Regions from separate parts of the Homo sapiens genome. Here region 2 is linked to region 1. Evidence: promoter capture Hi-C in human tissues and cell types (Jung and others, 2019). All regions are on one chromosome and are shown on one strand. The core of a region is centred on a gene start or on the middle of the fragment in contact, and the rest is flanking DNA. Distances in the headings are between cores, read along the strand shown.

The links. Contacts are between HindIII fragments. The study calls those that stand out against the background at their distance.
Region 2: a fragment that was not itself captured here is called in contact with the fragment with the promoter of BCL2 in region 1 in 1 of the 25 tissues and cell types used here (dorsolateral prefrontal cortex).

Annotation. Positions count from the first base shown.
Region 1 is chr18:63,316,780-63,322,498 of GRCh38, forward strand. BCL2 (BCL2 apoptosis regulator) reads right to left here and starts at 2,990. Exons shown (of 3, transcript NM_000633.3): 1 at 2,395-2,990; 2 at 1,303-2,173. The coding sequence starts at 1,887. RefSeq lists enhancers at 272-321, 4,758-4,847 and silencers at 1,612-1,851, 3,207-3,396, 3,557-3,766, 3,797-3,866. The HindIII fragment of the contact is 10,586 bases long and covers 1-5,719 here.
Region 2 is chr18:62,564,958-62,570,974 of GRCh38, forward strand. ZCCHC2 (zinc finger CCHC-type containing 2) reads left to right here. Exons shown (of 14, transcript NM_017742.6): 11 at 45-139; 12 at 5,146-5,274. Among named protein-coding and RNA genes, the nearest start is that of ZCCHC2, 45 kb to the left of the region's middle. The HindIII fragment of the contact is 3,379 bases long and covers 450-3,828 here.

The sequences.
Region 1 (5,719 bases), core at 1,740-4,239:
GACATCTAATCCACTTGCAGTAATTTCTAGGCTTTTTGCTCCTGTTAGGTCCTATAAAATAATGACATTAGTCATTCTCCCAAGAGGCTATAAAAGGAAGCACTGAATTGCATCCTGTTTTTCAAAGATAACTCTTCAGATTAAAACAAAAAGTGTAAAAAAAAAAAAAACTTCACACAAGAATTACTTTTTCATAAATTCATCATTTTAGATATGAGATATAGATCTCCATTACAATCCTTGACTCTTAGGAACTAAACCCCCTCCAACAAAGAATCTCAGAAAAGTACAATTGTATGGTATAATGATGAAAGCTCTATCTAGCACAGTACGAGAAAAAGATCATCTCACAAATGTTCTTCAAAGCCACAGGTATCAATCACTTCAACTAAAGTAAGGGTAAGATAATCCACAGCTAAGAATCAATTCTTCTACACTTTACATAGATACCTAGATGCAAATTTTTTTCAGCCGACCACAAAATTAGGTCCACTCTGAGTGGTGAAAAACAAAAGATTCTAACATTCTAGCAAACTGGTAAACCATACACAAATTATAGAATACAAAGAATGCAGCCGATGCAAATTCTGTCACTGACAAGGTAGCAAAGCCATAGCCTGATACTCCTCAGGACACCTCATCACGCCCACTGGGAACATGGCACACACTGGAGATTCCAGTCCAAGGACTTTGGAATGTCAACTTAGCTCTTTACAAACACAACTAAGTTTTTCAGGGAAAAAGACTTACATTGGTTTTCCTCTTTTGGAAAATTTTACCGATTGATGATGCCCTTGGTCTTCTGTGGAGTCTATTCTTCTAATCGGGTTGTTCTCCAATTTTAGTGTACAACGGGCTTGTTTCAGGGGAGCTTGTTTGGGATGCAGACTGTCAAGACCCAACCTGGTATCTGGTTCATAAGCAGTCCCTGAAACCTCCCTCCGGTTCCAACAAGCTGCTCAAGCCAGGAAACGGTGGTCCTGGGGACTCCTGGACCTTCAGCTTGAGAAACACTGAAGGGGTACCATTTACCACCACATCCTACTGGATTACAAACGCTAGATCTTTGGATCTCCACGACTAGCAAGCAAGTTAAAGACTTTTAGATGGCAGGCGTTATCGGTCAGGTTGGGAGTGAACGCTTTGTCCAGAGGAGGAGGTAGGGACGCCGGGAAGCAACAACTCTGATTTTATTTCGCCGGCTCCACAGCCTCCCATTGCCCCAGGAGCCCACCCGCACTCCAACCCCCGCATCTCGGACCTGTGGCCTCAGCCCAGACTCACATCACCAAGTGCACCTACCCAGCCTCCGTTATCCTGGATCCAGGTGTGCAGGTGCCGGTTCAGGTACTCAGTCATCCACAGGGCGATGTTGTCCACCAGGGGCGACATCTCCCGGTTGACGCTCTCCACACACATGACCCCACCGAACTCAAAGAAGGCCACAATCCTCCCCCAGTTCACCCCGTCCCTGAAGAGCTCCTCCACCACCGTGGCAAAGCGTCCCCGCGCGGTGAAGGGCGTCAGGTGCAGCTGGCTGGACATCTCGGCGAAGTCGCGGCGGTAGCGGCGGGAGAAGTCGTCGCCGGCCTGGCGGAGGGTCAGGTGGACCACAGGTGGCACCGGGCTGAGCGCAGGCCCCGCGGCGGCGCCGGGGGCAGCCGGGGTCTGCAGCGGCGAGGTCCTGGCGACCGGGTCCCGGGATGCGGCTGGATGGGGCGTGTGCCCGGGCTGGGAGGAGAAGATGCCCGGTGCGGGGGCGGCCCCCGGGGGCGCGGCGCCCACATCTCCCGCATCCCACTCGTAGCCCCTCTGCGACAGCTTATAATGGATGTACTTCATCACTATCTCCCGGTTATCGTACCCTGTTCTCCCAGCGTGCGCCATCCTTCCCAGAGGAAAAGCAACGGGGGCCAACGGCACCTCTCGCCCCAGCTCCCACCCCACGGCCCCCAGAGAAAGAAGAGGAGTTATAATCCAGCTATTTTATTGGATGTGCTTTGCATTCTTGGACGAGGGGGTGTCTTCAATCACGCGGAACACTTGATTCTGGTGTTTCCCCCTTGGCATGAGATGCAGGAAATTTTTATTCCAATTCCTTTCGGATCTTTATTTCATGAGGCACGTTATTATTAGTAAGTATTGTTAATATCAGTCTACTTCCTCTGTGATGCTGAAAGGTTAAAGAAAAAACAAACTAATAAGTAAAAAATCAGGTGCGTTTCCCTGTACACACTGAGTGAAAGCAGGGCATACACACTACAAGTAACACGGCTAAAAAGAATGTATTAAGCTGCCTGGAAATTAAATTTACTCGAATGCACTTTAAGTAAAAAATCTCAAAGGTTTCCATTGAAAGTTACATTAAACCAATTTCCTGTGCAGAGAACTTACTTGTATTTTTTAAGTACAGCATGATCCTCTGTCAAGTTTCCTTTTTGTAAAACCAAAACAAATGCATAAGGCAACGATCCCATCAATCTTCAGCACTCTCCAGTTATAGCTGATTTGAAACTTCCCAATGAATCAGGAGTCGCGGGGAGAGGGAGTAAAAATTAGGAGGATTTCCAGATCGATTCCCAGACTTCTGCTTCACAGAAATGTCAATCCGCAGGAATCCCAACCGGAGATCTCAAGAGCTCGAGAAAAAAAAAAGGCAGCGGCGGCGGCAGATGAATTACAATTTTCAGTCCGGTATTCGCAGAAGTCCTGTGATGTTTTCCCCTTCTCGGCAATTTACACGCGCGCACACACGCGCGGGCACAGGCATGAATCTCTATCCACGGGACCGCTTCACGCCTCCCCAGGAGAGAGACAGGGGAGAGGGGACGATGAAGGAGCCGGGGACGGAGGCAGGAATCCTCTTCTGATTAAACTCCGAACAGCAAATGCATTTTCCGAAAAGCTGCTGGATAAATGAAGGCAGGACGCGCCTGGCCCGCCGGTGCCGAGCGCTAGAAGCCCGCGCTGTGTGTGGTGCGGCGAGGGGTGGGGAGAAGGAGGTGGTGGGGGAGGGTTTTATTTTTTCCCTCTTTTCCTAAAAAGGATGACTGCTACGAAGTTCTCCCCCCTGGACCCCCTCTTCCGCTGCACCCCACCGGCGCACCCCGCCTCCGGGCTGCGCACCCTTTCTCCTCCTCCTGGTCCTGCGCGGCGGCGCTGGCTACGGCCGCCTCCCGGAGCTCCCGCCGCGCAGCCCGCTCCGAGCGCTGACGGCCGCCGGCAGGGAGGGCCCGGAGCCCCGGCACCTTCGCTGGCAGCGGCGGCGGCGGCAGCGCGGCGGGGCCACGGAGAGCGGCGGGCGGGAGCGCGGCGGGCGGGCGGGCAGGCGGCGCGGAGGGGCGGGCGCGGGAGGAAGGGGGCGGGAGCGGGGCTGTGGTGCCTGTCCTCTTACTTCATTCTCTGCACAGCCCGACCGGTTTCCTGTGCGTAACGTCACACGGTTCATTCAAAAAAAGAAGAAAGAAAGAGCCCTCCTCTGAGCCACCCGACCGCCCCCTCCGCCCCGCTCCCTGGCCCGGGTTAAAGGCGCCGCGGCAGGCCCGGGAGTGGCGCGTCCCGCCGGGGGCACATGGCGCGCGGGGCCGCGGCCGGGGAGGGCGCGTCCGGGCCGGCCACCCGCCCGCTCCGCTGCGCCCGCGGGGCCCGGCCAGTGGGTGGCGCGGGCGGCACAGGCCTCCCGCGCGGCCGCGGCGCGGTGGGTGTGCGCGGGGCCTTCTGCTCAGGCCTGCGGCAGGCCGCGTGCGGACTTGGTGGTCGCTGGGGTCCGCGACGGGGTGGGGGCTCCCGGGGAACCGCACGCGGCCGGGCCGGGCGGACGACGGAGTGCGGAGGGGGGCGGCTGGCGGGAGGGTGCGCCATGAAAACAAGGGCTGGAAAAGCGCCGGGAACCGCCTGGACCCTTTCTGGCCGTGTGAGTGTGTGTGGAGTGTGTGTGTGTGTGTGTGTGTGTGTGTGTGTCTCGCCTGGACCTTTTCTAGCCGTGTATGTGGGAGTGTGTGTGTCGCCTGGACCCTTTCTAGCCGTGTATGAGAGTGTGTACACGCGCCTACACACACACACGTTGTGTTACCGGCGCTCGGCCGCCGGGGGAAGACCCAGGCCAATGCCGCCCCCCACCGCCCCCAGCAGTGGGACCTCAGCGCTGCCCTGCTGTGAAGACAGGTGACTCTGCACGTTTTAAGCAATGTCTAGGGACGCCCCGAGCGTGGTGTTTACTTTCAAGTAGCTTCCTAGGTGTCCGCGCACTACACACGCACGCGCATCCCCGCCCGTGTCCACCTGAACACCTAGTCCGTGGCCCAGGCCATGCAGAACTCAGCGCTCCAGGGAAGGGGTTTATCAAGGGCTTTACGACAGTTTAAGTCAATGTTTTCCCTCTGTCCCTAACACCTTTTACACTGGTTTAGTGCTACACGATGAGGACTTCCATATAGTAACTTTCAGGCCCACCGTCCTAACGCTGGGGTGGGTGGGCTCCTAAAGGTCTCCACCTTTGCCTCGTAGCCAATCCTAGTTGGCCGCACTTTCTCAAATGAGGTACATAGATACACACATACACATTCACACTCGCAGACGTGTGTACGCGCAAGCAGACAGTTTTAAATTAATCAGCATGAATAGCCCCTAGCAAAAAAGGACAAGAGGACAAACAAGTTGCACGTGTGTATTTTTATCTCCAAGAGTCTTTGACAAAGCACCAAGAAAAGAAAAAGGTCTTCTAGAAGCACAGCGGCTTACTTAATAGGGCTCGAGTGCAAATATATAGGGACACTGGATTATTGGGGTCAAGAAAGATGACAAATGAGTACTACAATGTGTACAAATATGCTATGACTTTTTTTTTTTTTTTGAGACAGAGTCTTGCTCTGTTGTATCTTGGAGGCTGGTGTGCAGTGGTGCGATCTCAGCTCACTGCAACCTCTGCCTCCCAGGCTCAAGCAATTCTGCCTCAGCCTCCTGAGTAGCTGGGATTACACGTGCACGCCACTACGCTCTGCTAATTTTTGTATTTTTAGTAGAGACGGGGTTTCGCCATACTGGCCAGGCTGGTCTCGAACTCCTGACCTCGTTATCCGCCTGCCTCAGCCTCCCAAAGTGCTGGGATTACAGACATGAGCCACTGTGCCCTGCCTGACATCTTTATTTTGTCTCATTCCTACTCTAAAATCAAAACATTCTTTAAAAAGCCAGAAAAGCACACCAAATTATGATTTTTTTAATTTTTACTTAGTTGGCCTTTTTTTTTTTTTTTTAAGAGATGGCTTTTGCTATGTTGCCCAGGCTGGACTCGAACTTCTGGGCTCGAAGGATTCTCCCACCTCAGCCTCATGAATAGCTGGGACTATACGCACTGCCATCTCTCTTGGGTGTTTTTATTTTATTTCTTCATTTATTGTATCCCATCAGCCCAACAAGCCAACTTCTCTCACATAGGAATGGGGGCCTGGGTACAAATTTCTTATCCAGGCAAGAGGGGATGAAAGGAGATCCTCCTTCTTGCCCTTCTGATGGTTGGGACAGAGTCCCTTTTATGCGCGTGGGAGGTGTTTTGGTCTGGATAGACACTGGGTATAGATTGACCTAGAATAAATGTTCTCACATAAATTCATACCAATTGCACAACAGTATGGTTTAGAAATCTTGAAAGCGTATTTTAAAGCCCCAAAATTACCTAAGAGGAATTGAAAGGCTTCAAGCTCCTAATACTCAGCATATG
Region 2 (6,017 bases), core at 889-3,388, 750 kb before region 1:
AGATAACCTTATTAAAATGTTGGCAATATGTTCATTTGGTTTAGGGAGAAAATTAAGAAAACTGACAACAGATTGAATAGTAGAATAAATGGTATTAGACTCTCCACTCCTCAGCATGCCCATGGTGGTACTGTGAAAGGTAAGAAGGTTATTTTTCTTTCAAATACCCATCACATAAATATATTCAGCATGATACTTACTGTATTAATAGATACTGAGCTGTTGTGTCAAATCCTAATACTATAAGTTTACCTTGTGTTGATATGTACAGCAATTTCCAAATTAAACAGTTCTGAAATCAATGGAGTTAATTTAGGGAATACAAACCAGCCATGGGGGTGGAGATTGCCTTTGCCTCAGTGATTCTCACCTGCCTCTCCCTTCTGGCAGCAGGAGTCTCCCAGGTTGTTCTTCTCCAGCCAGTTCCAACTCAGGAGACAGGTCCCAAGGCCATGGGAGATCTCTCCTGTGGCTTTGCCGGCCGCTCATGAGAGTGTTTTTGTGTAAAGTATTTTTTAGAATACTGTTGACTTCTTCATGATTTAATAACCATCCTTTGCGAAGTTTTATGAGGCTTTAGGGGAATGTCAACCCTCAAATTTTTGTTATACTAGATGGCTTCCATTTACCCACCACTATTTTAAGGTCCCTTTATTTTTAGGTTCAAGGTTCATTTGACTTGAGAAAGTGCCCTTCTGCAGCTTCATTGATTTTGTTTATCTTCACTATTAATTGTAACGATTAAAAAAGAATAAGAGCACGCAGACCTCTAGGAGAATATTTTATCCCTGGGTGCCCCTGACACATTTATGTAGTGATCCCACAAATGTGATTGTTAATTTAAATGTTATTCTAATATTAGTACATTCAGTTGTGATGTAATATGAATAACCAGAATCTATTTCTTAAAAGTTTTGAGTATATTTTTCAACTAGATATTTGTATAGAAAGACTGAATAGTGATGAAGAAAAAAAATAGTTACCTTTTGAATCTGAAATAATCTGGGCCAGACACGGTGACTCACACCTGTAATCCCAGCACTTTGAGAGGCCAAGGTGAGTGGATCACCTGAGGTCAGGAGCTCGAGACCAGCCTGACCAACATGATGAAAACCTGTCTCTACTAAAAATACGAAAATTAGCCAGGCGTGGTGGCACATGCCTGTAATCTCAGCTACTCGGGAGGCTAAGGCAGGAGAGTCGCTTGAACCCGGGAGGCAGAGGTTGCAATGAGCCACGACTGCGCCATTGCACTCCAGCCTGGGCAACAAGAGTGAAACTCCATCTCAAATAAATAAATAAATAATAAATTAAAAAACTAAAATCATCTGGCCAACTCATTGAAGCATTGGAAGTGGGAGTAAAATAACATGGACAAAACCCATCTTGTCTGTAGAAGGATCTTGTAACACTTACTATCTCTGAGGTTCCCTCTGGTGGCGATGGCAGCTTAACGGAGGAGGAACAAGCTAAATGAGGAAGACAGAAGTCTGTCGGTGGACATTTGGAGATTGATGCTGCTGGCCCTCCCTGTCTCTGTTCCTTCTCTTTCTAGTTCATTTTCCATACTGCTGCCGTGTTTGTTTTCTAAAATACCATTTTCTGAATGAAATTCCTGCCCTCCACAAGCTCACTCTGTCTCTTGTCTCACAGTGTTTGGGAACTACTGCTCACTAAAGAAGTTTGCAACTGTTTTTTCGATGTTAGCCCATTTCCAGAGGAGAAGCACGTGGACGTTGGTCAGAGACAGTTAGGGTTTGAGTGTTGTGCTCCCCCAGTTTATTAAGCATGTGACCTCTCTGATGCCTTTGTTTGCTCATTTGTAAAACAGGAGTAATGCCTGCTTCAGCAGATTGTAAGAATTACATGTAAAAACATGAAGAGCATTTTCCTAGTTCCAAGTACCTAGGTGTTCACTGCAGCAATTTAGTTCCTTTTCCTTGTTCTAATAAATTAGAGGGAAACATACATTGTATAGGTTATTAAGAACTTTGTAACAGCATCACAAACTCCCATTCATTTTTTTCCTTAATTTTCAAGTGTTATGAAAATAACAACCTCAGCGTATTTTTCAATTTTATCTATTTTCTCCTCTATATCCGTCACCGATTTGTATGTATTTACATTTATAAAATGACTGAATGAAATATTTTTTGTACAGCTTGTCTTATTGATATCAAGTGCAGCGCAGATGTATGCCAATTCCAACTTTTAAAAAACCCCTCTGTGTATTAATTTTTCTTTGAAATATTAAGGCACCAAGGAAGAATTGTCTTTAAGCATTCAGTAAACTCAGTACGTGCCTAAGGATTTTTTTATGGAACAACAGCTCATATCATAAATTGGAGAGACATTGTCTTGAAGCTGAAAATACTGAGTCTTTCTGATTAGCAGGTTGTTTGGATCTTTAAATAATACATTTTAGCTTAAGATTTGTATTGTTTTACTTCTTAAAAATTTATTATTAAATTTAAGTTTTAACTTCTGTTTTGAGTGATAATCCATTTATGTAGCTCAGAATTTCAAAAGAAAACAAAGATCGCTCCCAGCCCTCCTCTGTGCTGGCTCCTGCCAGGACGCAGTCAGCGCCGTCAGCTGTCTGTGTTGTTGGAGTGTCTTTTCTGTTAAAACCCAAGCTTTCTGAAAGTCTGTCTTCTGAAGAGGTGCATATTACCTCATATAGAGCGTTAAGAATGCTCACCATGGCCAGGCGCGGTGGCTCACGCCTGTAATCCCAGCACTTTGGGAGGCTGGGGCCCGGTGGATCACTTGAGGTCAGGAATTTGAGACCAGCCTGGCCATCATGGTGAAACCCTGTTTCTACTAAAAATATAAAAATTAGCCAGATGTGGTGGTGCACACCTGTAATCCCAGCTACTCGGGAGACTGAGGCAGGAGCATCACTTGAACCCGGGAGGTGGAGGTTACAGTGAGCCGAGATTGCACCACTGTACTCCAGCCGGGGCGACAGAATGAGACTCTGTCTCAAAAAAAAAAAAAAAGAATGCTCATCATTGTAGTTTATTGCCCAGTGTTTCTTCCACCCCACTCTTCTGTTGCCAATTGTGGCACCAAAAAATTTAGAGGGAAATGAGATGCTTGATCTCTCAGTTTCTTGTAAAAGATTTAGAAGGTCTCTAGCTTCGTTTAATATCCCAGATGAAATATGTGGTTCTGTTGCCTATGATTTATTTAAATGAGTCTTAACTCTAACAGACTTCTATTGTTTATAATTACCAATTTCCAGTATTTTTAGTGTTAGAATAGTGGTTTATGTTTTACTTTTTGTTTTTATTATGTGCAAGACCCTTTATCATTTGAGACATGACAAATTCAGTTTGTGTGTCTTTTTAAAAGGGCAATTTGTGGAGTATCCTTTGGCATAATTGGTCTGTCTTCACTTTCCACATCCCCTGAATCTCTAGAGGATCACATAATTTCTGATTATAAAAGTTCTTAAGGTACCACACAATTCTGAAGTACCTTCTGAATTATCAAAAAAAAGTTACGTTAGTATAGATTTAGATTTATGTATTCAGTTCTTTGGAAGCTGCGGTTTTGTATATGGCAATTCGTGATTAGAATATTCACCAGCTTGCACAGTGTAAAGAAAATAGTTTTGTAAATTATGCCATTTGGAGAGGTAGCTGCTTTTTTTAAAACATATTCTGAAATTTGCTCTTTGAACTATAGTCTACTGTAGTTTCACTGTCTGCATCATTTTGATGAACGCTACCCCTGAGGTTCCTTTTCAGTCCATTTCTAGTTTGAGAATATCCTGTTGAATCTTTGATTCTCTTGATCTTGGGTTGTTCATTTTGTTATATGCTGGTTGAAATATTTATATGCAAGACTCATGCAAGTTCTATAGGTTTCATCATTAGTCCAATTTAATGACAACTTATTTGGCCACTATGGCCCGTTAGCTTGTCTTCAAGCAGCCATTGGTGGTGTTGACTTGCATCCCTTTAGTCGCCTTATGATGGGTCATTCAGGGCCTGTTGCTGTGTAGGTATCCTCCAGGTAACTTTTCTGTAAAATTGTTACTTGCCCATGAACTCCTCTGCCACTTTTCCTTCTAGCCTCATAAGATTTTGTGCAGTTTTCCCTTGACAGTTTGACATTTATTACTCAGAAGGAATTTAGCAACATCAACATTCCTAATGACTTTATTTTTCTTCAATATTCACCTAACATTTGAGTGGCTGGGCTAATCTAGGTCATGTTTAACAGTCTTAACACTGTTACAAATTTATCCCAGCCAAAACCACAAGTCAGTTGCCTGCATTGCTCATTATACAAATTGTGCCTTTTCTCTGACACATATTTTGCCCGTGCAATTAATACCCATTATCTTTTACTGGTTCTACCAGTTGGCACAGAAATGATTCACTAATCTATAGTTCTTAAGAAGCCTCTGGAATCCCTTATTTGGGGATTTATACACCAAACATATATTGAATGCTTGCTGTAAGGCAGAATTACGCTAGCTACTGGGTTTACAGAGATAAGAGAATATTTCCCTCAGTCAGGGCCACTACAGGAAAAAAAAAATCCAAAGTTTGTATCTCTTGTCCAATACTAGATACACCGATAGTCCCTCCTTATGTGCTCAAAACAGATACGGCTAGTTGGTCATGGCAGGTCCTGTCACCACCTCACACTACCTCAGTATAGGCTTGAACTTGGCAGAACTCAGGGGACTATTCAGTCTACTAGATGGGAAGCATTTTATTATTTTAAATACTCCAAGTAATTTTCATTGAATAGGCATTTTGGCAGCCCTTTTCTTCTTGAGTTCTTTTAAAGAATGAATTTTCCAGCAAGCTCTTAAGAGTTAAAATATCTAGACTTAGAAAGTAGCTCAAAGTGATATTATTGGACAGACCCTGCAACCAACCTTAACTCGTTTTTTCTTTGAAGTCAGTAAGATTGACTTATTCTGTGCATTGTTTTAAGGATATATTTATTAAGTATTTTCTATTAGAATTGTAATTTAATCAGTTTAGATCAAGGACAAGCTTTTTTAGATGGTTGTGGGGAAACTGAAGAAAATATAGCTAAAATTAATTTCTAATGATTCAACTTAGAAATTAATTTAAAATGACTTAACATGATTTTTTAAAATAGTGTTGTTATTTTTAGATGTGAATTTGGACATTGGCTCTGGACATGACACATGTGGAGAAACATCTTCAGAGAGTTACAGTTCTCCATCTAGTCCCCGACATGATGGAAGAGAAAGTTTTGAAAGTGAAGAAGAGAAAGACAGAGGTTTGCTCTTTGAAGTGGGAGTATTGTTGGCATGGCAGGGGTGGGGAAGTGGAGGGAAATGTGTGTTGTTTCTTCATGTCAAAGTCAAACAAGGAATTTTATGATCCTATAAATGCCATTAACTGATTTTAAATGTAAAGTCGTTATAAAGGATGTCGTATAGATCATTGCCTTAGAAATTCCTAACAATGTTGATTTGATAAACATATTTCACTGCATATGAAGTTAAGTAGGATGAAGACAGGATCATAATGAGGTAGAGTTAGTGTAGAAAGAAGGAAAATGTGTCTTGTTAGATGCATATGTATGTTTATGCTCTTTACGTCCTCTCGATTGATTGACCCTTTTATCATTTTGGGATATCCTTCTTTGTCTCTAGTAACAATTTTTGTCTTAAAGTCTATTTTGTCTGAGAATAGTATAGTCGATCCAGCATTCTAGGTACTGCTTGCACAGTATTTTGTTTTCTATCCTTTTACTTTAAACCTATTTGTGTCTTTAAATATAAATTTTGTCTCTTGTAGACAACATATAGTTAGATTATGGTTTTTTATTCATTCTGCCGATCTCTGCTATTTGTCCATTTACATTTAATGTAATTACTAATAAGGTAGGTTTTATGTCTGCCATTTTGTTGTTTTCTCTGTGTATTATGTCTTCAGTTCCTCGTTGCACAGAGGCTTAAAATCAGCCAGCAGTGAGAGCTTAGGGCCTTCTCAGGTCTGCCTTGGAAAGGTATGTAA